3 separate regions of the Homo sapiens genome follow, and regions 2 and 3 are each linked to region 1. The links are contacts of gene promoters, found by promoter capture Hi-C in blood cells and fetal thymus (Javierre and others, 2016). All regions are on one chromosome and are shown on one strand. The core of a region is centred on a gene start or on the middle of the fragment in contact, and the rest is flanking DNA. Distances in the headings are between cores, read along the strand shown.

Region 1 (4,545 bases), core at 216-2,715:
CCTGATTACATGTGGGAGTCACGTCCTCACCTTCAAGCAGACCTAAAGCCCCGTGTTCCCAGGGCTGGTGCTCTAGCTAGGGAGGAGAGTTGGGAAGAACAGGGTAGCTACAGATGGCCAACTGAATACAAGCAGAGCAACATCCCTTCCCACCAGGAGAGCCGTTAGAACTTCCCCACATACACCAGCCTAAGGCCCAGCGAGTGGGCACGGGCCAGCTGAACGCATCTGGAAGAGCCTCCAACACACAGGCCTCCCCTCAGTGGGCACTTCCCACCAGGACTCCCTGAAGAGTCCTTAGGGTCCTGCTGGGCCCTGCCCTGGCCAGGACCGGCCTCTCCTGTCCTCCTGGTCACTTGCACAGGGCCTCCAACACCTCCAGAGTACGTCGGATATCCCGGACTTGGCGCGCCAGCCCCTGAACCGGCTGCAGAGCCCGCTCCAGCTCCTCGCAGCGCGCCAGCAGGGTGTACATGCCCTTGATGCTCATGTCCACGGCTTCACCTAAGGAGTCCACAGCATCGCGGTAGGTCTGGATGCAACCCACGCTCAGCGCCGTCAGCTCCTGCACCGCGCCACCCAGACCGCGAAGCAGACGGTCCACCCGGCCTCCCAGCTCCCGACTCAACCGCTCCAGATCCCGCAGCACCTCGGGGTCGATTGGGGGAATGGCCGGTGTGGGTGTGGGTGCAGGCGCTGGGCAGGGCCGCGCAGGGGCAGAAGGCGGGGGTGGAGGCGCGCCGCTCAGACGGATCTTGAGTTGCAGGTTGTTGGCGACAAAGTGGGTAAGGTCGCCGTGGCGGCTCACTGTGCCTTCGAGCTCCAGGGGACTGGAGATGGTGGCGCGGCGTCCGCCGCCCGCGCCGGACTCGGCACTCCCTGAGGACCCGGCGCCACCGCACGCCTCGCTCAGCCCGTCCAGGCTGCGGCTGTCCTGAAGACGGCTGGAGAACGAGCGGCCGGCTCTGCTGCCCGCGGCCGCCTCCTCGTCGTTGTCTTCCTCCTCCTGCTGCTCAACATCCATCCCGCCGCCTGGTCCCCCTCGACGGCAGTCCCTCCCGGAGGAGGGCTTGCCCTCGGGCGGCGCCGGGTTCTTGTGCCGGGAGGACAGGGAAGGTTCGTGCTCTGCACCCGGCGCCCCCCTGCGGCTCCCGGCCCCAGACAGCGTCCCTTGAGGGCCGGGCTCGTTCTCCAGAGCCTCCCGTTCCGGCCGGTGGACGACGCCGCAGCTTGACGTCTTCGGGGACGTCCTGGGGTGGCGGTTCGCGCCCCCAACGTTCTCGGTCTCTTCCTCCCCGGACACCCGGAGGCCTGCGGGCGGCTCAGAGGACGTTCGGCCCGGCCCGCCGCCAAAGACTAGGGCCTGATGTTCCGCTACAGCCAGAAGGTCCGTCTCGGGCCCGGGCCGCCCCCGAGACGACTCCATACTGCAGGTGGGGGCCGCAACGGAGGAATTGGTTCGCCCCGGCTCCGGAGGCAGTGGCTGCGCCTTTAAGGGGCGTTGGTAGAGGCGAGCCGATTGGCAGCGGCTGACAATGGTAAGGACAGGAAAAGCATTTTGATTGGTCGCGGCGACCAGGAAGTCCCGGAAGAAGAGCTGTTACTGCACAGCGGAACACACGTGAACGCCGGCAGGGTGGAGAGAAGGAGGTGACAGCTGCTCCCGTCGCCCCGCCCTTTCTGAAAGCTGATGGGGCAGATCTTAAAGACCAAGGTCCTCAAATTCCTGAGTCCCGAGGGGTGGGGCTCAGATCCTTTCTGCCTGTAATTGTACCCCCCCCAACAGTGATTGCTTAGCAAAAATACCAAGTGGGGAGCCCACTTGGGGTTCCTAGAGAGGTTCTTAGGATGAAAATGGCATATCCTTCTTGGACCATCAGGGTTGAACCTAGTTGACTAAAAAGAAGGAAACCAGAAGTCCAGCATGAGCATGAATGGTTTGCTCTATCTTTCTTGGTTAAGAGACCTAACCACTGAACTGCTCAGAGCGACCCACTGTGGTCAAGGCAGCGGCCTCTGGGCTTTCCTATGCGTTTGTCACTCTTGTTCTGTGTCTCTTGCCCCTTTCACACTGAGGGGTCTCGCCCCTTGGAGGATGGCGTGTGATTTTGCCACGAGGTAAAATATTCAACAAATGAAATGATCACAAATTTTGATATGTGCTATACAGGAAATAAAGTGTTATGATTGAGAATATAACTGAGCAGGCACTAGTTTAGGTAAGGGGTCAGGAAAATACCTCTTTGGTGAGACTTTTAACTAAAAAGAACCAAAAAGACGCAGCCACCCCCCAGGCAGAGAGAAGAAAACTTGAGCTACCTCTCAGAGACAAAGAAGTCTTGACGTATTCAAGAAACTGAGGTGAGGGGGCAGGAGACATTGGGACTAAAACAAAATCAGCAAGATAAGGGGAAGGATTTCGAGCCAAGGAGCTGAACAGGCAGCAGGGGCCACGTCATGCAGGGGGCCTTGTAGTTCCTGTTAGGGAATGGAGATTTCCTCTAAATGCAATGGTGCAGCGACATTGGAAAGGTTGTACATTGCAACACATAGCCAAAGCTTGGAGACATCAGTATTTTTATTTATTTATTTATTTATTTATTTATTTATTTATTTATGTATTTAGAGACAGAGTCCCACTCCGTCACCCAGGCTGGAGTGCAGTGGCGCGATCTCGGCTCACTGCAACCTCCGCCTCCTGGGTTCACGCGATTCTCCTAACTCAGTCTCCCGGGTAGCTGGGATTACAAGCGCCCGCCACCACGCCCGGCTAATTTTGTATTTTTAGTAGAGATGGGGTTTCACCATGTTGGCCAGGCTGGTCTTGAACTACTGGCCTCAAGTGATCCACCCGCCTCGGCCTCCCAAAGTGCTAGCATGACAGGCGTGAGCCACCGTGCCCGGCCAGACATCAGTATTTAATAAAAACAGTTTGCTAACTCTCCTTAGCTGACAAAGGATGTGGTTGTTTTTTCCATTTGGATAGAGAGATGTCTTGAGGCAGTGTCATGCCAGCATTCAGAAGTGCAACTCCCCAGAACTTCCCAGCACTACTATCCCCAGGTGCCTGCCGGGGTCCTAGCCAGCCAACCCTAATGATAGTAGCTCAATCTTTCACCACGCCTGAGGAGTCCACAATTGTCAGCTGTCTGTATCTTATAGTCACCTGCAGCTTGACAAAACCTGTCATTCCTTTGCTCTAAAAAAAAAAACCTAAAAAGCTCATATATAATTGGGCTGGGTAGGTAGATATTCTTTAGAAGATGGGAGGACTTCCCTTGAGAATGGGAAGCTGAGCACAGGAAGAGAGTGATGTGATGGGATTCATGTTTAGGGATTACTGGCTGTTGTAGAAAATGTTTGCAAGGGAGACGGTAGACCAGTGAGGAGGCGGTTCCAAGTACCAGGTGATAGTAGCTCAGCCTAGCACGATGTGGATGGATGCATTCTAGATGTATCTTGAAGGTTTTAGCGGACAAATGGGCTACCCACCGTCTCTCTGTGTAGGGGAAGCTCCTCACTCCTCAACTCCCCATTCCCTGATGTGTTGGTGCAATGACAGCCAGGAACAGGCACGTGACCCAAAACTGGCCAATTAGAGTACTTCATCCTTCTGACTGCAGATTGGCTCAGGGAAGGGCACATGACCCAATGTATGACCAGTAAAAATCCTCCACAGTGTTGTTTGTTTCTAGCTTTGTGGAGAGTGTGAGACGCCTTTCTGTTCTCTTGAGAGCTCAAGCTGGGTATCAGCTTGTCCATCTTTCATGTCCAGGAGATCGCTGTCTGTAGAAGGAAAGAATGAGGCTGATAAGGAAGAGAACCAGAGACAAAAGATGAAGAGGCATGAGTTCTGAGAGCGTTTGAATTCCTGTGCCAGCCTGAAGATAGCCCCACCTTTATCCTTCCTGTGATTTGGTTCCTTGCCCCACCCCTATCGCACCACCTCCCCCGCAAAACCTTGTTTCTTCCTACGGTGACTTCTGTCTCAGTAAGTGGCAACTCCATCTTCCCAGTGGCCAAGGCCAAAAACCCTGGAGTTGTACTTGACTCCTCTTTCTGTCATAATCCATGGCCAATCCTTTAGGAAATCTTGTTGGTTCTGCTCGAAAATACATCCAGAATCTGACCACTTCTCATCCTTACCATTGTTTCTGCCCTGGTCCAAACCACCATCATTTTTGGCCTGGATAAATGAAGTTGCTTCCCGAATGGTCTCACTTCTTCTACCCTCACCTCTCTCTACAGTCTATTTTCAATAGAGAACCAGAATGATCCTTTAAAAATGTAAATTATCAGCAGGGCGCGGTGGCTCACGCCTGTAATCTCAACACTTTGGGAGGCCGAGGTGGGCGGATCACGAGGTCAGGAGATCGAGACCATCCTGGCCAACATGGGGAAACCCCGCCTTTACTAAAAATACAAAAACATTAGCCCGGTGTGGTGGCGCGCACCTGTAATCCCAGCTAATCTGGAGGCCGAGGCAGGAGAATCACTTGAACCCGGGAGGCGGAGGTTGCAGTGAGCCGAGATTGTGCCACTGCA
Region 2 (4,681 bases), core at 1,201-3,700, 300 kb before region 1:
GAGCCGGGGATGTGGGAGAGTCTGGGCTCCAGGCCAGCATTGAGTGGCTGCTGAGACCGAGGTTGGGACTTAGATTTGCTTTATTACCCTTCCTTGCTTTTCCTTGCCGTTCTCGCTTTGCCTCTCCCGCCACCGACGCCTGCCCAAGTTCGGGAACCTCCCGCTGGGGTGGGGAGTAGAGTGAACCGGCTTGTGCACCACCCCTGGCTGGTGGTGGCCGAGGCCGTGTCCCTGAACCTTAGCCAGTTGGCCTGCCCTTGCCACTGCCTCGGCAGCCTGCGTTTCCATGTTCAAGTCAACCGAAGTCCCTGGGGCCAGGGGGAGCCGGCTGCTGGGGCATGGCGCCTTCCTTGCTGACTTCCTATTACAGTCCCCATTCCGTTTCACACCCGGGCTCTGGCAGCCACCCCCCTGCACACACGCACACAGTCCTAGAGTGTCTTCCTGCACAAGGGGACACAGGATGCTGGAGTTAGCAGGAAAGGTGGCACTGAAGGAAGGCGAGGCAGCGACTCTGAGGCAGTGGAAACGGAGGCCTCTGGTGTTAATTGTGGCTAATTTTCCGTTGGCTGTTGAGGGAAGGAGAAAGGATTGTGTGTCCTAGAGCTAGGGGCTGGGCCAAGCCCAGGCTTTCCCATCTTGCATCGGCTGCCTCTCTCTGTACTAGACAGGTCTGGCTGGTTAGTCTAGTGCTTGGTAGGGGAGGGACGTGAACCAGAGCCCCAGGGCCCCAGGTCTGTGGGGCATCCTGTCTTCCTTTATGTGGGGTAACTCTCCGTTCCGTTCCCCAAGCCTTCACAGAGTGACACCTTCACAGATAATGGGGTGGGGGGCCTGGGGTCCTCTGGCAGAGACATCTGGGGAGAAAGCCAGGGACCTATCCCTGCTGAAGCAGGTACAGGCCATCCTCTGGATTTGTGGGCCTGAGAGTGTGTGTGGGTGTGGGTGCGCGCGTGCGCGCGCGTGCTTTTGAGAAGGCATATGCTGGGTGTGTCTGTCTGTGCCTATATCTTTGTTTGGGTCTCCCATACTGCGTATAGATGAATGGGTCAGGATATCTGGAACAAAATATGGAGGTGAAGGGTGAGATCGGGAAACAAAGGGTATGGCCCCCTAGTTCCCAAAGGGAGCAGGGAGATGGGAATAGAATTGAAGGTAGGTTTTAGGCTACTTGGGAGGAGGAATATTTAGGTAATTGTGGAGACTTTCTCCTGTGTGATGAAGGCGGCAGACACTGTGATCCTGTGGGCAAGAAGTAAAAATGACCAGCTGAGGATTTCTTTTCCTCCAGGACTGTGTTGGGGTGACAGGATGCCTGGTAATTATCCGAGGAAATGTAAATAGAGGCCTCCCTCTTGGCAAAAGGATGTCAGGGCCCCAGGGTGTTAGTGTGAGAACCCAGGTGTCCACCTTTGGCTCTCCCTCCCCAGCATCTGGCTTAGGGAGCTGCCAGCTTGTGTCTCCCCACTCCAAGTGCTGGGGTCAGGCCAGGCCAGCAGCTGGGCATGGCTTCCCCAGTTCCTGGGCAGGATGCCAGCTGGCGAAGTGAGGGGGAAGGCAGGAGGAGCCCTGGCGGTGACTGAAAGGACCTGCCACAGTCAGAGCCCATGGCCTGGAGCCTGGTCTCTTGTTAGTAGGAGGGGAGGGAGGGGAGTGGTTTGGCTGCTCTTCTCTTCTGACCCCTGACCTCCCATTCAGAACCAGAGCATCCCAGAGTACTCGAAACACTTTCTGTTTGCATCCAGTGAAGGGAGGCAGGGCTTGGAGGAGTTAATGCTTCCTAGAGAGTGGGAACTGCCGAGGTGGGGAAGGGGCAAGTTGAGGGGCCTCAGAGGCTGGAAACCTAGAGGCTTAGGTTTTCTGATGCTTTTTGCTTCAAAGATAAGGATGACATTCGGCTGCTGCCGTCAGCATTGGGTGTGAAGAAGAGAAAACGAGGACCCAAGAAGCAGAAGGAGAACAAGCCAGGAAAACCCCGAAAACGCAAGAAGCGTGTAAGTGTCAAGAATTCCTAACTCTGTGGCAAGGCTCAAGAGACCCATTCTCAGAGACCTACATTTTCTCTGGTCCTGATTACTGGTGTGGGGGTGGGGTTCTGAAGCCAGGGAGGCTTGATCCCCCGGGCCCCCCACTTCCCTGCCACTGTTGGCCTGTATCTCAGGGATCTGGGACCCTAACTTCATTCACTGCAACCTAGTGAAGAGCCTCGTTGTCAGTGTGTCCTCAGCAGCAAAGAGAAGCAGTTGAAAGCACAAGCTCTGGAAGACTGTATGAATTCAAGAGTCCAGCATTCCTCTGTCTAGGATACCAGGCCGTTTATTTGGCTCTCTGTGCCTTAGTTTCCTCATCTGTAAAAAGTAGATAAAGGCCGGTTGCAGTGGCTCACGCCTGTAATCCCAGCACTTTGGGAGGCTGAGCCGGGTAGATCATTTGAGGTCAGGAGTTCGCGACAAGCCTGGCCAATGTGGTGAAACTCCGTCTCTACTAAAAATACAAAAATCAGCCGGGCGCGGTGGTACGTCTGTAATCCCAGCTACACAGGAGGCTGAGGCAGGAGAATCGCTTGAACCCGGGAGGTGGAGGTTGCAGTGAGCCGAGATCACGTCAGTGCACTCCAGCATGGGTGACAGAGCAAGACTCCATCTCCAAAAAAAAAAAGGAGATAAAAAATTAGTTACTATCACAGGATTGTTGTGAAGATTAAAAGAGGTAAGATATGGTATGTGCTGAGAACAGTTTCTGGCAATGGTAGGGATGAATAAATGTTATTTTTATTTCTTTCTCTTAGGACAGTGAGGAGGAATTTGGTTCTGAGCGAGATGAGTACCGGGAGAAGTCAGAGAGTGGGGGCAGTGAATATGGAACCGGACCGGGTCGGAAACGAAGAAGGAAGCACCGAGAAAAAAAGGAGAAGAAGACAAAGCGGCGGAAAAAGGGGGAGGGAGATGGGGGGCAAAAGGTGAGTAGAATTAGGGAATGAGAGTGAGAAATCTGCATTAAAGACGGGCATGAGGAGGGGAGGAATGGAGACTGGACTGGAGAATGGGGCAAGAAGCAAGAAAGCCCAGGGAAGCTAGTGGGTAGGTAGACAGGCCTGTGTGCGGCCTGGAATAGGGGCTGGAGGAGCACCTACTTCACCAAAGCCCCTCTCCCGCAGCAAGTGGAACAGAAGTCATCAGCAACTCTGCTTCTGACCTGGGGCCTGGAGGATGTGGAGCATGTGTTCTCTGAGGAGGATTACCACACGCTCACCAACTACAAAGCCTTCAGCCAGTTCATGAGGTGCGGTAAGACTGGGGAATCCTCGCTAATTGACACTTTTAATTTGAGGGAGGTCCTGGACCCCTTGGAATCTGATGAAAGCTATGAAACTGCTCTCCAGAGAATTCACGGTGTATACACACCAAATTCTACACGTCATTTCAGGGAACTCCTAGACTCATAAGGATCCAAGAACCCCAGTTGAGAACTCTTCACTGAGGGGCGAGGGGTGGAGGGGCCATCATGATTCCAGTGCTGGGTTAGAGAACTCTTTAGCAACAGAATAAAGTGAGGACAGAATATAGTGAGCCCTCCCCTGCCCCAACAGCTCCATCTTCTGCTCTGTGACTTCTCTCTAGACTGGACCTGAGAGATACCATCAGTGTTCCTGAACTTCCTTAGCTCACTTAGCAGGTCCTGTGCCCCTTCCTTAGGCCCTGGTAATAATGGAGGGTCCACTGCTGGCAGTGGGACCTGAGCTTCAGTGGCTCCTGAAGAAAAGTAGAGAATAGTAGAGTAGAAAATAGCAGAGATGGGCCAGGTGCAGTGGCTCATGCCTGTAATCCAAGCACTTTGGGAGGCCAAGGCAGGTGGATCGCCTGAGGTCAGGAGTTCAGGACCAGCCCATCCAACATGGTGAAACCCCGTCTCTACTAAATACAAAAAAATTAGCTGGGCGTGGTGGCACATGCCTGTAATCCCAGCTACTCGGGAGGCTAAGGCAGGAGAATCGCTTGAACCCGGGAGGCAAAGGTTGTAGTGAGCCGAGATCACACCACTGCTATGCTCTAGCCTGGGCAACAAGCGAAACTCCGTCTCAAAAAAAAAAAAAGAAAAAATAGTGCCGATGTATTTTGTTTTGGGGAGAAGGCACTTTAACATATCAGTTCAGTGCTCTGGAGGCAGCTGCTGAGGTTCACATCTGGTTACATTTTGGGCAAGTGACTGAACTTCTTCAATCCTCAATTTCCTCTTCTATAAACGGGGAATAATAATATATACCTCATAGGAATCTGTGTGGGTTTGGTGGGATAATGAATGGAAAGCACAGTACCGTCAGTGCCTGGCTCCTAGGGAGCATTCAGTAACTGGTGACTGTCATTAGTAACGTTGTCTCACCTACCTTACTGCTGAACTTGGGGCTTTTCTCAGCACCATGGATCACCCGTGTCCGCACAAGAGTTGAGCACCCCACCCCAGAGCAGAACCAGCATGGTCTGACTCTTTCACACTCCGTCCTACGGAAGCCCATCTTCAGGGCCCATGGAACTTACTAGTAAAATGCAGAGAATCATAGCAACTCAAGAGTATTATTGTGAGGACAAGATAAGGTGGAATGTATGTGAAAGGGTTTTATGAACTGTAAAGTAGTATACAAAAGTAAAGCATTTTTGTTGATTTTATTTTAACCTTTTATGCT
Region 3 (4,610 bases), core at 2,111-4,610, 350 kb before region 1:
CTAGAAGAGAGAACGGCGGGGAAGGAGGAAGAACTGGGAGGCAGATGTCTCAGGTTCCAAATGTCCAGAGGGGCCTGAAAGGACTCCCCGTTCCCCTTGGGCTGGGATTCCCCTTCCCGACTCCAGGGCGGGGCGGGGCGGGGCGCGGCGGTCCTTACTGAAGGGCAGGACTAAAGGGCAGAGTTTGCAGACAGGTCAATGCCATGGCCCAGTAAGGTCAGATGTGGTCAGACTTGGGTGTGTCCCGGTCCCAGGACTACTTTAAGTCTCCCTCCAGTTCTCTGCACGGGTGAGGTGTAGAAGCCTCAGCCTGACCTTCCCACCAGCGGCCCCGAGAGCTTCCCAGCGGTAGCCTTCGCCTTCTTCCCACCACCCCCCTGCGCCTCCCTTTCACTCCGTCTCGCCCCGCTAGCCTCCTCATCCCTAGTCCTTCTCCCACTCCGCCGTTCCCGAACCCTAGCGCGCCCCGCACGGCTTCTCGGTGCGGAGCCTTCCCAACGTAGCCACAAGATGGCGAGGGCGAGACGCACCCAGGGCAGGTGGGGGATGTGACCGTGAAAGTAGCTGAAGCCCCCCGCCCCGGTCCGAGGGAAAGGTAGGCTGAGGCCCCCACTTGACTTCCTGTGATCTGGGCCCCCTCACAGGAAATTGTGGGCAGGAGGTCGCAGCGCAGAAGACGGGGAGGGGGCTGGGGACTCAATCTCCGCCTCTCCCGGCTGGGGTAAATAGTGGGGAGGGGGGCACGCGGGGTGGTTGCTAAGCGACGTAGATTCGCTTCCTGTTTGCTGCAGCTTATGTTGTGACACTGGTGGGGGTTAGAGACAGCGGAGGGCCTGAAGACTGTGGGGAAGGCCGAGGGCAGGACGCCTGGTTCCCGGGACAGGAAGAGCCCTGGGAGGAAGGCGGGGAGGTAGCGAGCTGCGCCGCGACCGAAGGGGACTCGGTGGTTGTCCGGAGGGGGTTAGGGACCGAGGCGCAGCGTTGACCTCGGCTCCCCTTCCCTCCCCTGGGTTGCTTGTCCTGTTGCCAGAGTAACTGGAGGGCGAGACTTGGGAGCCGGATTCCCGAACTCTCCCGTCCGCCCAATCCGCTCCAGCGGTCGGCCCTGACGTCAGGGCCCTGGCAGCCAATGGGGAAGGGGGATGATAGCGACAGGAAAGGGAGAGGGGAGGGGCAGCGGCGGAGGCTGGGAGGCAGCAGCTGCCTGGGACCCGCACGTGCACTCCCACACGCTCGCGCCCACCCCCCGCCCTGCGCCGCACGCGCCCGAGCACCCCCTTGCGCCTGCGCGGCGAGCCGGGCGCCCCCCTCCCCTCGTGGAGTCTGTGTAAAGCCGCCTGAGGCTGCGCTCTTCAGCCCCTGGGGACCCACACGTCTCGGTCGGTCTGCACCGTTTCGCCGGTCGCGACCATAATGCCCAGCCTGGCTCGGGAGGGCCGACTACCTGTTCCCCACCTCCCCCCAGCTGGCGCCCCACACTCCCAGGTGGGCTGGGCGGAGCTGTGGTTTCCGGCCCCATCTGCTCGGCCGCTGCCTTCCCGGGCTCTGGCTTAAGTTGCTTTCCCAAGAGAAAGCGAGCGGGTACCAGCGCCCCTTCCCAAGGCTTCTCCCGCCCGGGCCCAGCTGCTGTTGGTGGCGGAGGAGGGCACTGCGGGGAAGCCCCGGACGGCCCAGGTGATTCTTCTGGGCCATCACGCCCCTTCTTCGCGTGAATTCCTGCTCTTTGATGTGCACCAAAACCCTTCCCATTCCTAACGTTTCCTCCTCGTTCGCCCCGGCGTTCTTTGCACCTCCCTCGGCTCCTTTCGGGCTGTCTGTCCCTGTCTCCACTCGTCCTTCTTCGCTTCTCCCGGTTATATAACTCTTCCTCTCGCCGTGTCCTGGTTTCAACTCCACAGACTCCGCCCTGGAACAGCGCGGGGAGGGGCGGGAGAGTTGGGGACCCAGACAGATTCCGGCTGGCGGCCGGCTGGGGCACGGGGGATCCTGCAGATGGAAGACGGAGCCCCGCGGGACCCGGTGCCCCCGTCCCCGCCTGCCGGCCCCCACCGAGATCTCGCCCAGGAGAGAGAAGGCACAGTATCTCCGAGGGGCGTGTCGGGCCGACTCCCGTCAGAAATGTGGGTTGGGAGGTCAGGGCTGCAGGCGGAGAGGAGGAGACAGGCAAGAGGCCTGAGTCCCTGGGATTGGAGTCGTATTAGGGGTAAAAGAGATAAGGACGCCTGGGTTTCTTCTTATGTCTCCTTTTTGGGTTCCCAGAATTCCTAAGGGTGTTTCCAGTGTTTCCAGGAAGCTTAGCCAGCACACCCACTCCGCCCCGTAGGGGTCAAAGGTCTGTGTTAGAGGTGGCCTGGGATGATGTCACTAGTGCACGTGCCCCGGGATGGTTGCCAGGCAATGAGGCTTCCTCCCCCTTCTATTCCCTCCCACCTCTGCCCCGAGTCCAGTTCCAGTCCCGTGCCATCTCTTTCCCCTCTCCCTTCCCGTGGTCTTAGCATCCTGCAGGTGGGAAACCCCGGCCTGGAGTTTTGTGAGGGGGAGGGGCACGGGTGTGGTGTGGCTGAAAGACTTTGCCCCTTTGCTGGGCTGAGGGAGCCTTGGGTCACTTTTCCCTAGATTGGCACAGAAGAGCTTCCCCTCCAAGGCTCCGCCCCCATAGAAAAAGCTACCTAGCCGTCATTTTACTTTCCCACCTGCTGCATGGCCAAGTGTCCTATTGCCCCCTTCCCCAGATTGATTTGAAGTGGGAGTGGTTGAAAGACGGAAGAGTTGTGTGTAGTATGGGGGGGGGTTCACTACACACCAGCTTATCCCTGAAATCCCCATAATGGCACACCCCCATCTGCAAACAATGAAAGGAAAAGGGTCAAGAAACAGTATTAGGCTGAAAAGTCAGGGTCTTTATTGTGTGTATGCGGGTGAATCGGTTTGTAGCCTCTCACTTGGTGGAGGGGGACTCAGTTGATTGCTATGGTTGTTCTTCTCTATTAAGTCCCAGGGTTGGTGATGGTATTGGAATGAATCGGTTTGTGCTTTTATGTACCTTAGAGCTTGGGCTGTCAGATCAGACCTGGATTCTAATTCTAGCTCTGTCACTTAGTGGCTACTAGGACTTGGAGAGGTCAGAACCTCTCTGAGCCTCGTATGTTAATCTTGAACATTTAAATATCAACACCTACCTTGAAGGCCGCTGGGAGGAAAAAAATGAGATAATTTATGCAAATCACTTAGCACAGTGCCTGGCACAGAATGAACACAGAATGAGTGCTTGTTGTTATGAAATACTTTTATTATTAAATGGTGTTAGTTACTAGTTTATTATTATTGCTGTGGGTCTGCTCCAAACCAGCGGTAACCGTAGGAGTTTGTTAAGGGGTAGTGGATAGTTTGTGTTAATTTGGAGATTGGGGTTAGGGGGCTGGGGATTAGCTTCAACTGCTTTGTGCATTTTATTTGATGAAGGCTTTAGGCAGATTTGTATTGCTTTCTTTAGGATTATTTTTTTTTCTCTTGGACAAGAAATAGCTAAGACTATTCCGTGGGCCTTGAAAATAAAATAATTGTATTATGGTTCTTGATTTTGAAGCAAGACCCCAGCCCCCTCCCGTGTTGATCTCTGGAGCCTTTCGTTTTGCAGAGGGACTCCACAGTTTCTCTAGTGGGGACAGGGCTAGGCTGAGGGGTGTGTAAAAGGTTGGGGTGGGTGGGTGGAGAGAGACTAGTGCTGGGGGCTGGGGGGGCGGGTAGTTAAAGGAAGAGACCGGAAGGGAGGAGGAGGGAGCCTGCTGGTGGGGAGGGAGGGAGGGGAGGAGGAGGTGGAGGAGGAGGAGGAGGAGGAGGGAGGGGGTTGGGGAGAGCCTGCTACAGTTCTTTGTTTGACTCCGGGACTCAGGGACGGGGAGGAGGAGGGAGGGAATAGAAGGGGGAGGAAGCCCCCCCCCCCACACACACACAAACACACACACCCCAGCTGTTGGACAGATGAATTACAGCCTCCGGCTTGGGGCCAGGGCTGGTGAGGGATTAAAGCTCTGGGGCTGGCCCTTTAAATGGCTGTTAGCCCCTCCCCCACTCTGTTGTCCAGACACCCCTCACACACCCTCTGACCCCCTAGGCTTCCCCCTCACTCCTCCTCTTGGTCTGTCCTAAAGTCTGCCCACTCTGCTCTCGACTAGCCCTTTCCTAGTCCCTCCCCCCAGCACAACCGCAGAACACAGATGCCACAGACTATAGATACACACTCTCTGCTCCCAGGTTATGAGCCTCCCTGTCCTGGAGAGTTCTAGCCTGAAGCTCCCTTCCCGAGCAGAAGGGCCTTGCCTGCCTGACCTCTACCACCTACAGCTGACCACTACCCTGGCTTAGGAAGGAGGCCTTGGTGGGTCACAAATAGCACCTCCCTGGGGGCAGTGTCATCAGCAGCCACAGAAGCTTGCGGAACATTGCATCATGGAGACTGGGGGCTAGAGGCCTGAGTCTCTGAGGCAAGGGGAAGGATGGGGGCCGGAAGGCTAGGGAATATAGAGATTAGATTGGGACCCCAAGTGTTTGGGTCCATAAGGGCAGAGAACTATGATTAAGGGAGCAGAAAACATAGGTCCCTGAGGAGC

Evidence for each region. The method cuts DNA at HindIII sites, captures the fragments that hold promoters and counts their contacts. A CHiCAGO score of 5 or more calls a contact.
Region 2: a contact is called between a fragment that was not itself captured here and the fragment with the promoter of BORCS6 in region 1, in 1 of 17 cell types (activated CD4 T cells). The highest score is 5.8, in activated CD4 T cells.
Region 3: a fragment that was not itself captured here is called in contact with the fragment with the promoter of BORCS6 in region 1 in 5 of 17 cell types (erythroblasts, non-activated CD4 T cells, naive CD8 T cells and 2 more); the score reaches 7.9 in erythroblasts.

What each region holds. Positions count from the first base shown.
Region 1 is chr17:8,188,715-8,193,259 of GRCh38, forward strand. BORCS6 (BLOC-1 related complex subunit 6) reads right to left here and starts at 1,466. Exons shown (of 1, transcript NM_017622.3): 1 at 1-1,466. The coding sequence starts at 1,426. The coding sequence ends at 353. LOC124903913 (a long non-coding RNA gene) reads right to left here. Exons shown (of 2, transcript XR_007065604.1): 2 at 2,561-3,786. RefSeq lists enhancers at 633-1,279, 1,258-1,537, 1,280-1,925, 3,743-3,842 and silencers at 718-767, 838-897, 1,098-1,147. The HindIII fragment of the contact is 3,696 bases long and covers 1-2,557 here.
Region 2 is chr17:7,887,783-7,892,463 of GRCh38, forward strand. CHD3 (chromodomain helicase DNA binding protein 3) reads left to right here and starts at 1,007. Exons shown (of 40, transcript NM_001005273.3): 1 at 1,007-1,318; 2 at 1,882-1,994; 3 at 2,789-2,959; 4 at 3,158-3,282. The coding sequence starts at 1,219. RefSeq lists a silencer at 1-29 and an enhancer at 1,439-2,008. The HindIII fragment of the contact is 7,252 bases long and covers 1-4,681 here.
Region 3 is chr17:7,834,506-7,839,115 of GRCh38, forward strand. The region is part of intron 1 of KDM6B (lysine demethylase 6B); the gene reads left to right. LOC124904106 (translation initiation factor IF-2) reads right to left here. Exons shown (of 4, transcript XM_047437265.1): 4 at 903-2,139. The coding sequence ends at 1,112. Among named protein-coding and RNA genes, the nearest start is that of KDM6B, 2.6 kb to the left of the region's middle. RefSeq lists enhancers at 46-545, 2,214-2,263 and silencers at 1,094-1,513, 1,534-1,593, 3,134-3,283. The HindIII fragment of the contact is 2,138 bases long and covers 2,292-4,429 here.